Linked DNA regions of Homo sapiens: region 2 is linked to region 1. The links are contacts of gene promoters, found by promoter capture Hi-C in human tissues and cell types (Jung and others, 2019). All regions are on one chromosome and are shown on one strand. Each heading gives the region's core, a stretch centred on a gene start or on the middle of the fragment in contact. The rest is flanking DNA. Distances are from core to core; before and after follow the strand shown. Region 1 holds the start of POU5F1B (POU class 5 homeobox 1B). Region 2 has its middle 41 kb from the start of CASC11.

Evidence for each region. Contacts are between HindIII fragments. The study calls those that stand out against the background at their distance.
Region 2: a contact is called between a fragment that was not itself captured here and the fragment with the promoter of POU5F1B in region 1, in 1 of the 25 tissues and cell types used here (small bowel).

The regions. Positions count from the first base shown.
Region 1 is chr8:127,414,421-127,417,120 of GRCh38, reverse strand. It overlaps POU5F1B (POU class 5 homeobox 1B), which reads right to left and starts at 1,254. Exons shown (of 1, transcript NM_001159542.3): 1 at 175-1,254. The coding sequence starts at 1,254. The coding sequence ends at 175. The region is part of intron 5 of CASC8 (cancer susceptibility 8); the gene reads left to right. The HindIII fragment of the contact is 11,415 bases long and covers 1-2,700 here.
Region 2 is chr8:127,691,173-127,693,872 of GRCh38, reverse strand. No RefSeq gene overlaps it. Among named protein-coding and RNA genes, the nearest start is that of CASC11, 41 kb to the left of the region's middle. The HindIII fragment of the contact is 9,197 bases long and covers 1-2,700 here.

The DNA of each region.
Region 1 (2,700 bases), core at 5-2,504:
CTTCACCTTCCCTCCAACCAGTTGCCCCAAACTCCCCTGCCCCCACCCTTAGTGTTCCCAATTCCTTCCTTAGTGAATGAAGAACTTAATCCCAAAAGCCCTGCCACAAACTCCAGGTTCTCTTTCCCTAGCTCCTCCCCTCCCCTGTTCCCCATTCCTAGAAGGGCAGGCACCTCAGTTTGAATGCATGGGAGAGCCCAGAGTGATGACGGAGACTGGGGGAAAGACTTCCCCCTCAGGGAAAGGGACTGAGGAGTACAGTGCAGTGAAGTGAGGGCTCCCATAGCCTGGGGTACCAAAATGGGGCCCTGGGGCCGGAGGAAAGGACACTGGTCCCCCTGAGAAAGGAGACCCAGCAGCCTCAAAATCCTCTCGTTGTGCATAGTCGCTGCTTGATCGCTTGCCCTTCTGGCGCCGGTTACAGAACCACACTCGGACCACATCCTTCTCGAGCCCAAGCTGCTGGGCGATGTGGCTGATCTGCAGTGTGGGTTTCGGGCACTGCAGGAACAAATTCTCCAGGTTGCCTCTCACTCGGTTCTCGATACTGGTTCGCTTTCTCTTTCGGGCCTGCATGAGGGTTTCTGCTTTGCATATCTCCTGAAGATTTTCATTGTTGTCAGCTTCCTCCACCCACTTCTGCAGCAAGGGCCGCAGCTTACACATGTTCTTGAAGCTAAGCTGCAGAGCCTCAAAGCGGCAGATGGTCTTTTGGCTGAACACCTTCCCAAATAGAACCCCCAGGATGAGCCCCACATCGGCCTGTGTATATCCCAGGGTGATCCTCTTCTGCTTCAGGAGCTTGGCAAATTGCTCGAGTTCTTTCTGCAGAGCTTTGATGTCCTGGGACTTCTCCGGGTTTTGCTCTAGCTTCTCCTTCTCCAGCTTCACGGCACCAGGGGGGACGGTGCAGGGTTCCGGGGAGGCCCCATTGGAGTTGCTCTCCACCCCGACTCCTGCTTCGCTCTCAGGCTGAGAGGTCTCCAAGCCGCCTTGGGGCACTAGCCCCACTCCAACCTGAGGCCCACAGTACGCCATCCCCCCACATAACTCATACGGCGGGGGGCAAGGGGGAATCCCCCACACCTCAGAGCCTGGCCCAACCCCCGGCCCGATTCCTGGCCCTCCAGGAGGGCCTTGGAAGCTTAGCCAGGTCAGAGGATCAACCCAGCCCGGCTCCGCCCCCCATGGCCCATCACCCCCACCGCCTGGAGGGGGCGAGAAGGCGAAATCCGAAGCCAGGTGTCCCGCCATGGGGAAGGAAGGCGCCCCAAGCCGGGGGCCTGGTGAAATGAGCAATTATGTTACTTTTCATTGAAAGCTCTGTGACCGTATGGCTGTGTGTGTCATACGCTCACTAGCAATGAACACAGTGCCTGAAGCATCATTAAATGTTGACTGAATGTGTTAGGAACTCTTCAAAAGTAATCTCTTTAAATCATAATCACCTGTGAATTGACAATTATTATCTTCACTTTGTGGATAAGAATGCCAAGATTTGGAAATGTTGAATAATGTGTCCATTGTGTCAGTGGCCGATCTGAAATTCCAGTGTAGGCACCATGATTCCTGAGTCCATTCTGCTTCTGCCATACCATGATGCTAGATTCTTCATGGGAGCCATCTACTTGTGTTCTGTGCTATGGAATGGTGTGTCCTTCTTTCTGATTCTTATTTCCTGCAGATTGTGGGGAAACGGTTCTACCATTAACAACCAAAGGCAAAATGGGCTGCAACCAAAGAAATTCCCTGACCTAATTCTTTATAGTTGGTGACAAGTGTGCTGTAGTGACGGGAAATAGCACTCTATGAAGATTTAATAGTGCAAATTCTACCCTCCTGACAACCCCTTTCTTCAGCACTGGATGGGTGTATTAGTTGTTTATCATTGTGTAATAGATCACCTCAAAACTTAATAGCTTAAAAACAACTAACACATAGCTCACAGTTTTGTAAAATAGCAATTGTGGTGTGGCTTAACTGGGTATCCTGGATAAGGGTATTTCATGAGGTTGTGGTCAAGATGAGAGCAGGGGATGTTGTCATCTGGGAGCCTAACGGGGGCTGGAGGATCCACTTTCCAAAATGTCTCACTTACTTGGCTGTTGGCAAAGGCCCCGGTTTCTTGTTGGCTGTTGGTAGGAGGCCTCAGTTGCTCACCATGTGGGCTTTTCCATAAAGCTGCTTGAGTGTCCTCACAACATGTCAGCTGGATTCACCCAGAGAGAATGACCTAAGAAAGAGAGAGCAGGGAAGAAGCCACTGCGTTCTTTATGACCTAGTCTCTGAAATCGCACACTTTTACTTGTGCCATATTTTATTCATTAGAAGTGAGTCACATTCTGTAGGAGGGTAATTAGCCTTCACCATTTGGCAGGAGGACTATCAAATAATTGGTGGGCATATTGTAAAGCTATCATAATGGTTCTGGTAGGCCATGTTTTTGCCTCTGCCACTCAAATATTGGATGTCCATTTCTTAAAGGGATTGTGAAAAGAGAAGGGGCTTTAGAATAAGACAGGCAAATGTTTAAACATTGAGTAAATTTTTAATGTCCTTAACCCTTGTTTCTCAACCATAAAATGAGAATGATCATATCAAATCTTCACAGTTTTGCAGGATGGGTTGCAGGTAATAAAGTCCTAGTGCAATGTCTGGCACAAGGTAAGTGTTTAAGCAGTGGGCTCCTTTCTGTTACAT
Region 2 (2,700 bases), core at 102-2,601, 280 kb before region 1:
CCAGCAGGAGGGTGGAGAGATGGGCTGTCTCATCCATGGGATGGTGCCTGGAAGTTACCTCACTTCCATTTATATCCCTTTGGACAAACCTGAGTTTGTATTTACACCTTGCCGCCAGAAAGGCTGGAAAATTGGGATTTTATTATTGGAAGAAGGGGGACAAGTAGCAGCTTCTGCCTCAGTGGAAAGTCTGGTGCAAAGATAGCGGTCGTAACCTGGAAGTCTTCATGGGCACTCACTGTGTGCCAACCACATGTATTACAGAACTGCTTTTATTATAATATTTTCACAGTCACCCTATGAGATGGGCACTATTAGCGGCATGCCCATTGTACTGATGAGGAGGCCCGAGGGCAGAGCCTGGATTTGACCCCTGGCAAGCCAGCTTTACAGGCTACACAGCTAACCACCACCATGCTGTATGGAGGGTTCCAGAATGGATAAACACAGTTTTCACTAATGGATTTGCTATTTACTAACCCTGTGGCTTTGGGTAAGCTATTTTTCCTCACAAGTTCTTAGTGTTCCCATGACAGAGGGACGTATGTATCAAATGAAATAAAAACATGGGATGGCTGTTTGTCAACTGGAAAAAGTTAGAAGGAAGACTGACTATGATTTCTTTCAGTGACCATGGGACTCTGATTTCCAATGGCAGTGGAGAGAGAGAAGCTGTGACTACCTGACTGCCAGCCTCCACAAGACAACGTTGTGTGCGTGAAATGCTCTTTTTTACAGTGACCCTCGGGACTCAGCCCCCAGCCCACAGCCCCCATTCTTTCACTGCCTCCTATTTCTGTGAGGTTATAACCACGCCTATAGAATCACTTTGCCTTTCTATATTACTCAGCTGGAATAATACGGCAGATGAGGGCAACAGAAAGGAAAAAAAGATATGGAAGTTTGCTAAATAGAGAAGATCTGCTACTTCACTAGGAAAAGCTGGATCCTGAAGAGGATTAAGGTAGAATTTCTCACTAAATCTTGCCGCATGACGGTCAGCCACTTCTCTCCCTCTCTTCTGTCTCTATTTTTTATTTATTTATTTATTTTTTGAGATAGAATTTCACTCTGTCACCTAGGCTGGAGTGCAGTGGTGTGGTCTTGGCTCACTGCAGCCTCTGCCTCCCAGCTTCAAGCAATTCTCATGCCTCAGCCTCCAGAGTAGCTGGGATTACAGGCATGCGCCACAAAGCCCGTCTAATTTTTGTATTGTTGGTAGAGACAGGGTTTCATCGTGTTGGCCAGGCTGGTCTTGAACTCCTCGGCTCCCACCTTGGCCTCCCAAAGTTCTGGCGTGAGCCATTGCACCAGGCCAGCCACTTCTCTTAGGAATGACTAAAAAGCCTTTGTTATTCTTTGTCCATAACAGACGCAGGACTCAAGTCCACCAGTGCTAGACTGAAGTGGGTGTCTCAAAGCATGGTGCAGGAATGTCTCTGAGTCCAGTGCCGGGAGCACTGGGGGCTCAAGGAGTAATTGCAGTGAATGAACGAGCAGCTTTTGGCTTGTGTGGCCAAAAGGTTTTTCTACAGCAGCTGCTAAAGTGGTTGTGCATGGAGCCGTCTCTGCAAACTGGGTCAACAGGTCAATTGGGCCTTTTATATGCCAACCAGGGCTGCCTGTATTTACGTTGACGGTCAGATGTAGGGCAGAAAATGATGCCGGCAAAGGAAATCCATTTAGAACTTTTCTCTGCTGATGCTGACTACATGGAGAAGCAGTTCATTATTTATAGACCACACAATTGTGTTTTGTACAGTAACCTTATTTGGGCATATAAATAAGCCAAGGATAAGAGAGGAGAACAAAAATGCATTGATTTCTTTTTCTTCTTATATGAAAGGTAGATGAAGCAGTTTTATATTTGAGGTTTCCTGGCTGGCATATTACCCAGACAGCAGGAATTAGAACAGATTTAATCTTCCAATCCATACTAATGGGGGCATTAAAAACACTGTTTATTAAATTTATCTTTTTGACACTTTTAATATATTCCATTGCAGCCTTGCAGCATAAGTGCTGGATAATGATAATGTTCAGCATTTATTGAATGCTTGTCATGATTGTGCCAGACACTGTGGTAAGTAACACACATTGTCTCATCCTATCCTTACCACACAAGTGTGAAGAGACACCTATTTCAATTCCCATTTTACCGATGAGACACTTGAGGCAAAAAAAAAGTACAACAATTTGCTGAAACCCATTTAGCTCATGAGTAAGGAAGCTTCTTGGGGATTGACGTCAAGTTTCTTCTGTGAGTTTCTGCACTTGATGGTCACACGCTATTGAATGATGGGGATACCTGCAGCTGTGGGGCAGGGAAGTTCTTTCATGTTCTGGAAGTGGCAGGTGACAGAAGCAAAGGGAGCTAATCCTCGAAGTTTGCTTACTGCATGCTGAGCAAAGGGCTAAATCTTTTTCCTACAGAGTCTTCTTTTAAATTCAGAACAAGGTTCACCTACTTCTGGGCATCCCCAGAACCTTCTGTCTAAACCAAAAGAGAATCTTGAATTTTCTTAATTTACACTTTTAAATAATTTGGCAGTTTCCTGACATCTATTCTCAAGGGGTGGGGCACCAATGAATTAGTTGGTTCATTCATTCATTTACATCAGCCTTCTTTTTTTTTTTTTTTAGACAGAGTCTTGCTCTGTCGCCGAGGCTGGAGCTGGAGTGCAGTGGTGCGGTGATGTC